Regions from separate parts of the Homo sapiens genome. Here region 2 is linked to region 1. The links are contacts of gene promoters, found by promoter capture Hi-C in human tissues and cell types (Jung and others, 2019). All regions are on one chromosome and are shown on one strand. The core of a region is centred on a gene start or on the middle of the fragment in contact, and the rest is flanking DNA. Distances in the headings are between cores, read along the strand shown.

What was found. Contacts are between HindIII fragments. The study calls those that stand out against the background at their distance.
Region 2: a contact is called between a fragment that was not itself captured here and the fragment with the promoter of ARC in region 1, in 1 of the 25 tissues and cell types used here (dorsolateral prefrontal cortex).

The regions. Positions count from the first base shown.
Region 1 is chr8:142,612,227-142,619,640 of GRCh38, reverse strand. ARC (activity regulated cytoskeleton associated protein) reads left to right here and starts at 5,162. Exons shown (of 3, transcript NM_015193.5): 1 at 5,162-7,157; 2 at 7,389-7,414. The coding sequence starts at 5,370. The coding sequence ends at 6,560. RefSeq lists a silencer at 4,846-5,055 and an enhancer at 5,071-5,969. The HindIII fragment of the contact is 38,144 bases long and covers 1-7,414 here.
Region 2 is chr8:142,558,619-142,566,327 of GRCh38, reverse strand. No RefSeq gene overlaps it. Among named protein-coding and RNA genes, the nearest start is that of ARC, 52 kb to the left of the region's middle. RefSeq lists an enhancer at 1-81. The HindIII fragment of the contact is 7,337 bases long and covers 2,121-7,709 here.

The DNA of each region.
Region 1 (7,414 bases), core at 3,913-6,412:
GCACCCATCTCCCACTGGCCCCCAGGCCATCAGCTTCCATCTTCTGCACCAGTGCCAGAGCCAGCCCACTCCTTGGGGCCCCTCTCATCCCTCAGGGTCTTTCCCAGCCCTTGTTGCCACCTTGGGAACACCAAGCACTGTGCCCATCACCGATGGGGGTCTCCTAAGAACCCTGCCCCATTCCACCCTGGTCCCCTCCAGGGCTCTCACAGAGGCTGTCGGGCTGCAGCAGCTATGAGGCTGGAGGTCGGGCAGCTGGGTTGATGGACGACGGCCTCAACTCTGTCACTTGCCCGCTCAGCAGCCTGGGGCAGGTCCTCCCACCCCTAAGGACCCCTGTGGAACCTGAGGCGAGAGCATCTACCTGGGTGGCCAAGCAGGAGCAGCTGCGCCCCGGCCTCTCCTCTGCCCCTCTACTTTCCCACCTCAGTCCTTTGTGCCTCCTTGGTCTTTTCCCCAGGCTCAGTCCTGGCCTGCTGTGCACCCCCCCATGCTCTGGAGGTGGACTGGGACCCTCATCCTCAGCTCTGCTCTCTGCCTACCCTGGCCCGTCCCCACTGCAGGTGGCCCTCAGGACGGAGACAGCAGGGCCCTGGTGTCCTCCAGCTGCCTGGACCCATATCCGCCAACTGCCCCTGCAACTCGCCACCAGGTCTGTGCCACCACTGCAGGAGCGACACTGGGGGCGGACGCTGGCCAGGCCTCAGAGAACAGAGGAGGTGGGCAGGGCGAAGAAGCCCCCAGAACCTCTCCTGAGGAGCTGAGGGCGGGGCCCCGGCCACTTCTCAGGCTCCAGACTGGCACTGACGAGAGGCTCCGGCAGGAACGGCTGGGAGAAACCTCGCCAGACCAGGTGGCACGAGGCCAGGGATGAGGCTCCTGGAGCCCCGGAGCTCCCGGCCACCCCTCGAGGCCTTGGCATTGCCACCCACTTTACGGATGGAAAGCTGAGGCTCAGGTGAGCAACTGTCCAATGTTTCCTGACTAGAAAGGAATGGAACAGGAACCATTCCAGCCCTCAGACCCCTCGCCAGTGTCTGCTCTGGACCAGGCCCTGCTTACACTCAGGTGTTCACCTATGGGCACCACCTGTAGGGTGGTGCAGGGACTCAGCCAGGCCAGGCAGCTGGGACAGCCTTGCCCTGTGCCTGCGAGGAAGAGGCAACAGGAAAAGAGGATACCTGGGGTGGGAGTCCAGCCTGGGAGCCCAGCGAGGTCAGAGGTCAGCAGCTCCTGCAGCCTGTGGAGCCCTGGGCTGGACAGCAAGGGACACCCGGTGGGAGCAGGTGGCTGAGAGGCTGGCCTCCAGGTCTGGCCATGCAGCCTGGGCAAGCAATGGGCACCCTGAGGGCATAGGGCAGCCTGGTTCTTCTCTTCCAGCCCCACCGGGCAGTAGATGGTGACAGATGAGGCCACAAGGCTGGGGAGTGGTCACATGTGGGGGGCGGGTGCCCGAACCAACCCCTGGGACTGCCTCATTCCTTCTCTGCTGCCGGCTCCTCACTCCACGCAGCCCACACAGAAGGGCAGCAGGAGCCCCGGAATGTGTGCAAAGGGTGGGGTGGGCAGGTGTGTGTGGCCAGCAGTGGGCAGGTGAGGAAGGGCCTTTATGAAGACAGTGATGTGGGGGGCCAAGGCAGAGTTGGGGGCCCTCTGGGTTGTTTCCAAAGAGGACAGAGCCTGGAGGCAGGGGAGATGGGGGAGGTGTGTGCCTCTGCGTGTGCCCATGTGTTTGCGCATGTGTGTGAGTGGGGGTGGGTGTGAGCTCTGGCCTGAAGGGGCCTGTGGTTGCCTCTCCCTGCTGAGCAGCGCTAACTGCCGGCACCCGAGATCAGCAGGGCCAGCCTGGGGGAGCAGCAGGATGCCCCAGGTCAGCAGCTGCCCTGTGAACGCTCCTGGCAACCCAGAAAGGCCCTGCCGGAGTGGGTCAGCCAGGGCTGAGACAGTCTGGGGCTGCGGGGAGAGAGCTGACTCCCTTTGCTCTGATCAGGCAGGAGCAGAGGCGGCTGGGCACCCCAGAAGGAGAAGGGAGGCCCAAGGCACAGGGTGGCCCCTGCCTTTCAGAGCAGGTACCCGCACGCCTCTGGGAACCTAGGTGGTGGGGGCTCAGGAACCAGCACTAAGAGGTCCTTCGAGGCTGTCGTGAGCCTGGTGGAGATCTCAACCGTGAACAGAACCTGGGGGTCATGGGCTACCCCACCCTCCCCTGCAGGACCCCTCCTCTCAGGCAGGTGGGGCCTCAGAGTGGTCAGACCTGCGCAGCAGCAGACCAGGTTGGCTTTGAGAGTGGGGATCCCCCAGGTGCTCCCAATCTCCTTGTGCAGGTCTAGCCCCCACCCCCTTCCCCTGTTCCTTCCCCCACCTGCATCCCCAAGCCATGCTGCTCCAGTGGCTGTCAGGGACGGGCACGGGGTGGGGGTGGGCTGGAGAGAGGAGCAGGGCAGGCCCCTGTCAGGAGAGGCCCCCGCCCCAGGTGGATGGGAGTCAGCCTGGCCTCCTTTCCCGAGGCTGCAGTGCGGGGGTTTGGTGAGGGCTTCTGGGGCGATAATTGGGCAGCGATTAAGCGTTCCTGGCAGCTGCGGCTGTTGCCTGTCACCGGTCAGCTCAGGCCTGCATTCACAGCCTCTGCAGACCCTGCTGGAGGGGGTTGGGGAGGGGAAGACGGGGCTCCGCGTGGCACCCCCGACGCTGCCTGCCCTCGTGCCATCCAGGGCAGGCACTGTGCTCTCCCACCGGTCTCGGCTTGGCCACTTCTGGCTTGCTGTTTAGCAGGTGACAGGGGTGGTGATGGGCCACGGGGCATTGAGCAGAGGACGCCAGGATTCCTCACCAAGGGCCTGGCTCCTGCCCAGCCCTGCCTTGCTCACCGGGCCACCTTGGGCACTCACCCTTCTCCAGGCCTGGCTCCCTCCACACAGGTGAGGGAACTGAGGCAGCGGCACCACCTATGACCTTGGCTCACGTGTCCCCAGTCCTGCCTCCTTGTCAGCTTGCTGATGCCTTGGGTGGGGGTGGCAGCTGGAGGCCACTGCTGGCCAGAGGCCTAAGAGCTGTGCCCTGGCGGGGACGTCAGAGGCCACACGGGCTTGTAAACCCTGGCGGGGCTGGCCCCTGGTCATTGAAGTGCTGGCTCTCACAATGGACACACATGCACGGTCAGTGCCCAGCACCCAGACAACACCTACAGGCTCAGGCTGGCCCCAACCCGGACATGTGGCCCTCGGTGACCGCTGGCTGCACTCACCCAAGGCTGCTGGCGTCTGCCCGTCCCGCATGTGCCCACCCAGCTCCTCTCCCTGGGATTCCGCAGTGGAGAAGCGGGAAGGTCCCTGTGCTGGAGACTTCTCTGCCTGGCTCCCCCTCCCAGCTCCGCGGTGCCCCTCCGCCCTCCCTTCTCTGTCCGCCCACTTACCTTTAATTAGAAATGCCAGGAGAGCCATTTTTGGGGAGTTTTTTTGCCAGAAAGACATTCCCCCCCAGGGGCGGAAGGAAGGAGGAGACAGACTGGCTCTGAGGCTGGGAGAGGGCTCCCCGGGAGAGCCGGTTGGGGGGGGGCTCAGAGGGTTGGCAGGGAGGGGGGATTCCAGCAAGTGGGCACCTGTGTGCCCTTGAGTGCCTGAATAAGACAGGGGATGCTGGGGGGAGCTGAGGGCTGTGAGTGGGGGGTATGAGTGTGTATGTGGGAGCTATGAGTGGGGGGTATGAGTGTGTATGTGGGAGCTATGAGTGGGGGGTATGAGTGTGTGTGGGGGCTGTGAGTGAGGGCATGAGTGTGTGGGGTGGGGTTAGAGTGGGGGCTATGAGTGTGTATGTGGGGGTGTGAGTGTGCAGCATGTGTGTGTCTGAGAGAGGGAAAGGGCAGCTGGCAGCAGGAACAAGATGTCTTGATTGTCAGCGATGATGTCCTCATGGCCCTCTGGCTGTGGGGAATGGTGTGTGTCACCCCTGCCTGGGTAACATCAGAGGACCTGAGACCCATGCCTATCCAGCCAGCACTGGAGTAACTCAGGAAGGGCGTCCCTACCCCCGCCAGGTTGCCAGGGAGGCAGAAGGGACCTCCCTCCCGAGGGAGTCTCGGCTTCCGGAGCCCCGCTCCTTATATGGTGCTTGGCTTCCCTCTGCCTCTCCTGATGGCACTGTGCTGCCAGCACCGGCCCCCCTCCCTCTCCCTCCTCGCCTCTCCTCCCTCCCCTTCTCCTTTCCCTCCTTCCACCTCCCTCCCTGTCTCCCTCTCTCCTCCCCTCTTCCATCCCCTTAGAAGTCTTGGAGCCTCTGGCCAGGTTCTTGATATAGCCAGGGTCTTCAGGGCCCAATTCCCTTCACTGGGGGCTAAATGTCCCCTCCATGTCCTCCAAACCCCAGCCCCCCAGGTAGCAGCTGCCAGATTTCCCTGGAAACACAGAAAAGTATTGGGCCTCACCAGAGACCTGCGTATGGGGGCATGGGGCAGCCCTGTCCAGTCACTGCCACGTGGGCCCCTGTCACCCATGCACACCAACGCCAGGGCCAGGCAGAGCGAGCCTCTGCCTGGCTGTGCGTCCCTCACACAGAGCCCAAGACCTGGACTCAGGACCCGGGCAGGAGTGAGTGGGAGCTCAAAGCCACATCTGGGAGCTCACATGGAGACTTGCTGAGCCCCTGGGCACAGAGGCTGATGGTGAGGGTCCTTCCCGGGCTCAGCTGCACATCCTGCAGAGCTGGGTGGGCGGGGTCAGGGGCAGTGAGGACCCAGGAGAGCAGTGGCCAGCGCCAGCCCCCTCCAGCCCCGCAAAGAGAGAGGCGAGTGGAGAGGAGGAAGGCCACCTTGGGACCCTGGGAGGCAGCAGATGACAGCCCGCCCAGCGCCCGGGAGGGGGCGTGGGAGGGGCGCCCAGTGCCCGGCTCAGTCCCTCGGTCCCCGCAGGCTGAATGAGCCCCGCCGTCCGGGGTGGGAGGTACGGAGCGGAGGGATTAGTCATCCTGGCCCCGCCATGTGTGCAGGGGGTGGGACCTCCCGTCCCTTGCCGCCCGGGAGCCGAGTGGGCGCAGGGCGGGGCCTGCAGGGGCGCGGGCGGGGCGCTGGCGGGGAGCCTGCGGCTGGGCCAATGAGAAACCGGGCTCGGCGAGCCGGCCGCCCACGGGCCTCGCTGGCTGCATAAAGAGCCGGCGGCCAGGACTCAGCGCAGAGCTCGGGCGCGGCGTCCTCCCTCCGCAGCAGCCGAGCCGGACCTGCCTCCCCGGGCGTGCTCCGCCGGCCCCGCCGCCGGCCCGCAGCGACAGACAGGCGCTCCCCGCAGCTCCGCACGGGACCCAGGCCGCCGGACCCCAGCGCCGGACCACCCTCTGTCCGCCCCGAGGAGTTTGCCGCCTGCCGGAGCACCTGCGCACAGATGGAGCTGGACCACCGGACCAGCGGCGGGCTCCACGCCTACCCCGGGCCGCGGGGCGGGCAGGTGGCCAAGCCCAACGTGATCCTGCAGATCGGGAAGTGCCGGGCCGAGATGCTGGAGCACGTGCGGCGGACGCACCGGCACCTGCTGGCCGAGGTGTCCAAGCAGGTGGAGCGCGAGCTGAAGGGGCTGCACCGGTCGGTCGGGAAGCTGGAGAGCAACCTGGACGGCTACGTGCCCACGAGCGACTCGCAGCGCTGGAAGAAGTCCATCAAGGCCTGCCTGTGCCGCTGCCAGGAGACCATCGCCAACCTGGAGCGCTGGGTCAAGCGCGAGATGCACGTGTGGCGCGAGGTGTTCTACCGCCTGGAGCGCTGGGCCGACCGCCTGGAGTCCACGGGCGGCAAGTACCCGGTGGGCAGCGAGTCAGCCCGCCACACCGTTTCCGTGGGCGTGGGGGGTCCCGAGAGCTACTGCCACGAGGCAGACGGCTACGACTACACCGTCAGCCCCTACGCCATCACCCCGCCCCCAGCCGCTGGCGAGCTGCCCGGGCAGGAGCCCGCCGAGGCCCAGCAGTACCAGCCGTGGGTCCCCGGCGAGGACGGGCAGCCCAGCCCCGGCGTGGACACGCAGATCTTCGAGGACCCTCGAGAGTTCCTGAGCCACCTAGAGGAGTACTTGCGGCAGGTGGGCGGCTCTGAGGAGTACTGGCTGTCCCAGATCCAGAATCACATGAACGGGCCGGCCAAGAAGTGGTGGGAGTTCAAGCAGGGCTCCGTGAAGAACTGGGTGGAGTTCAAGAAGGAGTTCCTGCAGTACAGCGAGGGCACGCTGTCCCGAGAGGCCATCCAGCGCGAGCTGGACCTGCCGCAGAAGCAGGGCGAGCCGCTGGACCAGTTCCTGTGGCGCAAGCGGGACCTGTACCAGACGCTCTACGTGGACGCGGACGAGGAGGAGATCATCCAGTACGTGGTGGGCACCCTGCAGCCCAAGCTCAAGCGTTTCCTGCGCCACCCCCTGCCCAAGACCCTGGAGCAGCTCATCCAGAGGGGCATGGAGGTGCAGGATGACCTGGAGCAGGCGGCCGAGCCGGCCGGCCCCCACCTCCCGGTGGAGGATGAGGCGGAGACCCTCACGCCCGCCCCCAACAGCGAGTCCGTGGCCAGTGACCGGACCCAGCCCGAGTAGAGGGCATCCCGGAGCCCCCAGCCTGCCCACTACATCCAGCCTGTGGCTTTGCCCACCAGGACTTTTGAGCTGGGGCTGACTCCTGCAGGGGAAGCCCTGGTCCAGCTGGGTGCCCCCTCGAGCTCCGGGCGGACTCGCACACACTCGTGTCATCCAGATGTGAGCACCGCACCCAGCGGCAAAGAGCCCTCCCCCCTGCAGGGCTCCACCCATCACCCTCCCTCCGTCTGTCTTTCCGGCCTGGACCCCACCCTCCACACTCTCAGGCCATCACAGAACACCCCAGCTTCCTCATTCTGCTACAACACCCAGGCCCTCTGGACATCCAGAAAACCAAGTGTCCGGATGGCAGGGGCCAGCGGCCACCAAGCTCATGGGACACCCAGAGCAGAAGCTAGGGCAGAGCCAATGCTGAGGGAGCCTCGACTTCCGGCGCCGCCGCCCTCTCCCGGCATCCGCAGAGCCAGCTGACGCCCTCCCTGCCTCCCAGGGCAGCTGGCCAGCCTCGGGCAGCGCGGCCCCCTCCTCCCAGGGGAGAGTAGAAGTCGCACACGCAGCAGAGCAGACCTGATGTCCCGGTGCTTCCTGGCCCCTCAGGTGAGCCCCTGCCCCAAGGCAGTACCGGCTGTGGGGCATCTGAGAGCTGGCGGGATCCGGAGGCTGTTTTCTAGGAGAGCCCACTGAGGCTTGGGCCCCCAGCAAGTTAGCCAAAGGGATGGGGTGGGGCTGGCATCATGGAAGGGGGCATTGGGGAGAGTGGGCCGGGTGGGAGGCAGGGGCAGTTTGCTGAGCCAGCTCTCACATGGACCCGCGCTTTCTCTCCCCCAGCTCCAGTGATTCACGCCCGCCTGGAG
Region 2 (7,709 bases), core at 4,540-7,039, 54 kb after region 1:
GCAAAGGTTCCCAGGAAGAGATACATCTGGCTTCTACAGGGAACCCTGAAAGCCAGAGAGCCAGAGCTGGCCGGGCAGGGCCCCTCGGCTGCAAGCCACCTGCGCAGATCCTCCCCGCGTCCTATATGAGGTTGTCTGTGTTTCACTTGGAAAAGTGTGAGAATTCTTTCTATGCCGTTCCTGCATCCTTAGCCAACTATTGGCATTGCAAATATTTTTGCACAGTGACCTGTCCTTTGACCTTGTTTATGGTGTTTCTGGTTGGACGGAAGTTTTTGGTTTTAATGGAGCCAAATGTATTCCTTTTCTGTGCTTCGTGCTTTGGGGCCTTTTTTTCTTTTTGAGACAGTGTCTCTCTCTCTCTGCCCAGGCTGGAGTGCAGTGGCCATCCACAGGCACAATCCTAGCTCACTGCACCCTGGAACTCCTGGGCTCAAGCAATCCTCTTGCCTCAGCCTCCCGAGTAGCTGGGACCCCAGGGGCCTGCCACAACACCCAGATAATTTTTGTACTTTTTGTGGAGACAGAGTTTTGCAATGTTGGCCAGGCTGGTCTCGAACTCCTGAGCTCAGGTGACCCTCCTGCCTTGGCCTCCCAAAGTGCTGGGATTAGAAGCGTGAGCCACTGCACCCGGGTGGGATCTTGTTGAGAACTTCCTCCTTGCTCTGTGGAATTGTATTGGTACTGGGAGGTGTCCAGGAGATAGATCAGCAGTGACAGGCTCGGGGCTGGGAGGGGCTGTGCCTTATGATGTGAGTGTGGCGCCGAGCTCCCTGACATGGGAATGGGATGCTGGTTGCCCACTGCATGCCATGGTGCCGTCTGTCCTCAGGCTGTCACCCCTGGCTGGTGACAGTGACAGCGGAAACATTGACCTTGGGAGCCCAAGAGCTGCTGCACTTGACCGCTAGAGCACAATCAGGACTTGAGTATTCTGTATCCCTCGGAGCCTGTTCCTGAGATGGGCACCACACAGCAGTTTGAGCAGGGAAGTGTAATATGAAGAATGATTCAGTGCCACGGGGAATGGGAGTTAGAAGGGGCTGGCTAGTAAGAAGTACAGAGAGCTCTGAAGAATGCAGCAGCGGCAGGAATGACACGTCTATAGAACACTAGCGGGTGTCCTGCCATGTAAGGCGGAAGAGCCCCTCCCTGGGCTGAGGCAAGTGCTCACAGCAGACCTCCCCTCCTGGGCAGCTCGCTCCTGCAGCAGAGAAGCCAGTGGGTGCAGAGACTGCTGGACACGAGCCCTCTGAGATGCAGGAGAAGTTGCTCACAGGGAGGTGTCGCACGGGTGATACTCCCTTACCAAACCGCCCCGGGGGTTCGGGCACAGCTGCCCCTTCCCGTGGCTGGCCCCATGCTCCACAGGAGCTGAGCGCTGGGGCAGTGGCCTCCCTGCAGGAGCCTGGCCCTGGAGATCCTACAGCCCACGGAGCAGAGGGGCTCCCTCCTTCGGTGCGTCTCACTGCTGTCTTCTGACCACACCCCAGGACCCACCAGCAGAGGAAGGTATTCAGGGGGCTCACATCCATTTTCACACACCAGGAAAAACAGCTGAACTTGGAGAGGTAAAAAAAGCCAAAAAACAAAAAGCACATGAGGGGCACAAAGATCTCACATGTTTGCTGTGAGTGACCTTCTCACCCCATTCCGGTCCATGTGTCTTAACCCCGGTTTCACATTTTCTGTCTCTTTTATGTCTCGATGGTGCATTGATTTATCTCCCAGTTCATTCTTTCTCTATCCCTCATTGGCTGTTAAAACATCCGCCGACTTTGTCACAACAGCGATGGTCTTCGCTTTGTCTCCTGCACTCTGTTCCAGGTGCGCCTGTTCCTTCTCTGCAGTGTCTTGCCTTCTTCTTAGGAGTTCCTGTTTCCCACAAATGTAACCATTTAAAAAACACCTTGTCATCTCCTCTGCATGGCTCACCTCTGGGACATTCTCAGGGTCTGGCCTTGCCGTTGGCTGTGCTTTCTGTCTCTTGCTCATGGTGGCTTCTCACCTGCTCACGTTGCTGCTGCGTATCGTGGGCTTCTCCTGTGTATCATGGGCTTCTCCTGCGTATCGTGGGCTTCTCCTGCATGTCGTGGGCTTCTCCTGCGTGTCATGGGCCTCTCCTGCGTGTCGTCGGCTTCTCCTGCATATCGTGGGCTTCTCCTGCATGTCGTCGGTTTCTCCTGCGTGTCGTCGGCTTCTCCTGCATGTCATTGGCTTCTCCTGTGTATTGTGGGCTTCTCCTGCGTATCATGGGCTTCTCCTGCATATCGTGGGCTTCTCCTGCATGTCATCGGCTTCTCCTGCATATCGTGGGCCTCTCCTGCCTGTCGTGGGCTTCTCCTGCATGTCGTCAGCTTCTCCTGCATGTCGTGGGCTTCTCCTGCATATCATGGGCCTCTCCTGCATGTCGTGGGCTTCTCCTGCGTGTCGTCGGCTTCTCCTGCATATCATGGGCTTCTCCTGCGTGTCGTTGGCTTCTCCTGCGTGTCGTGGGTTTCTCCTGCGTGTCGTCGGCTTCTCCTGCGTGTCGTCGGCTTCTCCTGTGTATCATGGGCTTCTCCTGCGTGTCGTGGGCTTCTCCTGCGTATCTTGGGCTTCTCCTGCATGTCGTCGGCTTCTCCTGCATATCTTGGGCCTCTCCTGCATATCATGGGCTTCTCCTGCATATCGTGGGCCTCTCCTGCATGTCATCAGCTTCTCCTGCGTGTTGTGGGCTTCTCCTGCGCATCATGGGCTTCTCCTGCGTATCGTGGGCTTCTCCTGCATATCATGGGCCTCTCCTGCATGTCGTCGGCTTCTCCTGCGTATCATGGGCTTCTCCTGTGTGTGTGGTGGGCTTCTGCATATCGTGGGCTTCTCCTGCATATCATGGGCTTCTCCTGCGTGTCGTTGGTTTCTCCTGTGTGTCGTTGGCTTCTCCTGTGTGTCGTCGGCTTCTCCTGCATATCGTGGGCCTCTCCTGCATATCATGGGCCTCTCCTGCATGTCGTCGGCTTCTCCTGCGTATCGTGGGCTTCTCCTGTGTGTGTGGTGGGCTTCTGCATATCGTGGGCTTCTCCTGCATATCATGGGCTTCTCCTGCATGTTGTCGGCTTCTCCTGCATGTCGTGGGCTTCTCCTGTGTGTGGTGGGCTTCTCCTGCGTATTGTGGGCTTCTCCTGTGTGTGGTGGGCTTCTGCATGTCGTGGGCTTCTCCTGCATATCGTGGGCTTCTCCTGTGTGTCATCGGCTTCTCCTGCGTGTCGTGGGCTTCTCCTGCATATCATGGGCTTCTCTTGCATATCGTGGGCTTCTTCGTGAAGCCCTGGCATTGGGCTCAAGGCTATGTGTGCCAGGGTCTTTGTGTTTGCTGCTGATACGGAATGAATTTCTGCATTAACTCCCCAGCTCTGGGGTCCCCACTAAATGCTGGCGGTGGAAACTGAAACCCTAAACCCTCCTGTGGGGCTTGACCATGGTTATCACCCCTGAAGAAAACATCTTTTTCTGCAGGCTGAGACAGACACAAACCCCCTAGCAATAACAAACCAGCAGTGGAATCAAGAATAGCAACCATGGAAGCCAGAAGAGGGTGGAACGAGGTTTCACAACTGTGGCTGATCCTGTCTCCTGGGCCAAAAGCCTGGGAGGTGGGCAGACTGCTAGAGATGGCAATGAGAAGGCAGCTTGAGGCCAGCTTCCTAAGTTCTGTTCATGCTGCACCTACCCCTGCCACACACACATTCCCTTGGGGTAGTCAGTGTCTGCCTCTTCATTGAAGAGCTTGGGGGCAGTAGCCCAGGTCCTAGTGCAGGGGTCCTTGGGTGACACTGGGGACTAATGCAAGATGTTAATAATAGAGGAGACTCTGGGGGCAGGGTGAAGGTGTGTGTATGAAACATGATAAAAATAAAATTTAAAAAATGAAAAGTAAAAATGCAAGAAGGACCACATGGAAATTTTAGAATTGAAAAGTACAATAACTGAAATAAGAAAAATTCCCTGGATCGTCTCAATAGCGTACAATGGAGATAAGAGGAGAAGAGTGACCTTGAAGATCAATAGAAATTATCCAATCTGAACAACAGAGAGAAAAGTGATGGACCAAAAATGAAGGGAACCTTAGGGCCCACGACACCAACAGTCAGATTATCAGACTTCCAGAAGAAGAGGAGACAGTGGATGGTATAGGAAGATTCAATAAATAACAGCTCAAATTGCTTGAATCTTGGCAAAGACAGAAACTTACAGATTCAGATATGAACACAAAACAGGATAAACAAAGAGAAATCCATGTTGATGAAGAAACATCCTAATCAAGCTGCTGAAAGACAAGAACATCTGAGGCCAGCCAGAACAAAAATGCTGTAGACATATGGAAGAGCAAGGATTTGAAAGACAATGGATTTCTCACCAGAAACCATGGAAGTCGGGGAGCAATGGAGCAAAATTTTTTAAATGCTGAAGAAAAAGGAATGGTCAATATGAATTCTATATCTAGTGAAAACATTCTTTGGGAATTTAGCTGGAATAAAGGCATCCTCAGATGAAGGAGGACTTGGATGTAATTCTTACACCTTATATAAAAGCTAGCTCAGACTTTATCTAAACATAAAATGCAAACCTATCACACTTTTAATATCAGAGAAAAATCCCTGTGACCTGGCAAGAGGTCTTACATATGACACCAAAAGCTCAATCAATGGGAAGACAACTTTGTTCTGCAAAAGATATTCTTGAAAGAATTAGAAGAACAGCCATGACAATAGCCAGCAAGGAATTCTCGAACCATTGTTGGTGAGAATGCAAAACAGAGCAGCTGCTCTGGAAAATTGTTTGTCATTTTCTTACAAAGTTAAAGATACACTCACCTTATGCCCTAGCAGTTCCACTCCTAGGCATTTGCCCTAGAGACATGAAGATGTTTCTACACAAACTCAAGCATGAATGTTTATATCAGCTTTTTTCATAGTTGTCAAAAACTGGATATAACTCAAATGTCCTTCTGTGAGTGAATAGATAAACTATAGTACACCCATACAATGGAATTCTACTCAAGAATTGGAAAGAGATGGGCTGGCCATGGTGGCTCATGCCCGGAATCCCAGCACTTTGGGAGGCCAAGGCAGGAGGACCGCTTGAGCCCAGGGATTTGAGACCAGCCTAGGCAACATAGCAAGACCCCATCTCAAAACAAAATAAAACAGGCCAGGCACAGTGGCTCATCCCTATGATCCCACACTTTAGGAGGCTGAGGTGGGAGGATTGCTTGGGCCCAGGAGTTTGAGATGAGCTTGGGCAATATAATGAGAACTTGTCTCTACAAAAACCTTAAAAAATTAGTTGGGCAGGGTGGTGTGTGTCTATAGTCCCAGATACTAGGGAGGCTGCAGTGGGAGGATCACTTGAGCCTGGGAGAGTGAGGCTGCAGTGGTCTGTGGTTGCGCCACTGCACTCCAGCCTGGGCAACAGAGTGAGACCCCGGCTCAGAAAAAGGAAGGATGGGTGCACAGCACCGGGATGGATCTGAGCAGCGTGAATGCTGAGGGGTGGGGGCCATCCCAAGGGGCTGCACCCTGCGTGATTCCATGGACATGGCATTCTGGAAACAGGAAAAGTGCGGTGCAGTCATTTGCTGCATCCCCATCTATTAGCCAGTGATGGACCATGTGCTGCATCCACTCCTGTTAGACGGTGATGGACCATGTGCTGCGTCCCCTCCTGTTAGCTGGTGATGGACCATGTGCTGTATCCTCGCCTGTTTGCCAGTGATGGACCATGTGCTGCATCCCCGCCTGTTAGCCAGTGATGGACCATGTGCTGCATCCCCGCCTATTAACCGGTGATGGACCATGTGCTGCATCCCCGCCTGTTAACTGGTGATGGACCATGTGCTGCATCCCCGCCTGTTAGCCAGTGATGGACCATGTGCTGCATCCGCTCCTGTTAGACAGTGATGGACCATGTGCTGCGTCCCTTCCTGTTAGCTGGTGATGGACCATGTGCTGTATCCTCGCCTGTTTGCCAGTGATGGACCATGTGCTGCATCCCCGCCTGTTAGCCAGTGATGGACCATGTGCTGCATCCCCGCCTATTAACCGGTGATGGACCATGTGCTGCATCCCTGCCTATTAACCGGTGATGGACCATGTGCTGCATCCCCTCCTGTTAGCCAGTAATGGACCATGTGCTGCATCCCCTCCTGTTAGCCAGTGATGGACCATGTGCTGCGTCCCCTCCTGTTAGCCAGTGATGGACCATGTGCTGCATCCCCTCCTGTTAACCGGTGATGGACCATGTGCTGCATCCCCTCCTGTTAGCCAGTGATGGACCATGTGCTGCATCCCCGCCTATTAACCGGTGATGGACCATGTGCTGCATCCCCTCCTGTTAGCCAGTGATGGACCATGTGCTGCATCCCCTCCTGTTAGTGATGGACCATGTGCTGCATCCCCGCCTGTTAGCCAGTGATGGACCATGTGCTGCATCCCCGCCTGTTAGTGATGGACCATGAGCTGCATCCCCACCTGTTAGCCAGTAATGGACCATGTGCTGCATTCCCGCCTGTTAGCCAGTGATGGACCATGAGCTGCATCCTCGCCTGTTAGCCAGTGATGGACCATGTGCTGCATCCCCGCCTGTTAGCCAGTGATGGACCATGTGCTGCATCCCCGCCTGTTAGCCAGTGATGGACCATGTGCTGCATCCCCGCCTGTTAGCCAGTGATGGACCATGTGCTGCATCCCCGCCTGTTAGCCAGTGATGGACCATGTGCTGCATACCCTCCTGTTAGCCAATGATGGACCATGTGCTGCGTCCCCTCCTGTTAGTGATGGACCATGAGCTGCATCCCCGCCTGTTAGCCAGTAATGGACCATGTGCTGCATCCCCGCCTGTTAGCCAGTGATGGACCATGTGCTGCGTCCCCTCCTGTTAGCCAGTGATGGACCATGTGCTGCATCCCCGCCTGTTAGTGATGGACCATGAGCTGCATCCCCGCCTGTTAGCCAGTAATGGACCATGTGCTGCATCCCCGCCTGTTAGCCAGTGATGGACCATGTGCTGCATCCCCTCCTGTTAGTGATGGACCATGTGCTGCGTCCCCGCCTGTTAGATGGTGATGGACCATGTGCTGCATCCCCTCCTGTTAGACGGTGATGGACCATGTGCTGCGTCCCCGCCTGTTAGCCAGTGATGGACCCCATGTACAATGGTGGCCTTGTAAGATTGCAATGGAGATGAAAGTGTCTGTCATCTAGTGACATCCTAGCGGCCATTTCTCCCATGTGTGGTGACACTGGCGTAAGCAACCCTACTGCACTGCCAGTCTATAAAATCAAGCTCATATAGTTATGCACATTACATAATACTTAATAATAAATGACTCTGTTACTGGCTTATGTGTTTACTGTACAATACTTTTGTTATTTTAGAGTATACCCTTTCTACTTATATAGAAAAAGGTGAACTGCAAAACAGCCCCAGGCAGGGCTTTCAGGAGGGGTCCAGAAGAAGGTATTGCTGCCCTAGGAGGGGACAGCTCCATACATGCCACCGCCCCTGAGGACCTTCTAATGGGACAAGACGTGAAGGCGGAAGACAGTGAGGTGGGTGATTGTGACCCTGTGCAGGCCTAGGCTACTGTGTGTGTGTGTGTGTGTGTATATATATGTTAGCTTTTAAGAAAAAAGTTTAAAAAGTAAAAAAAAATAAATAAATTTTAAAAT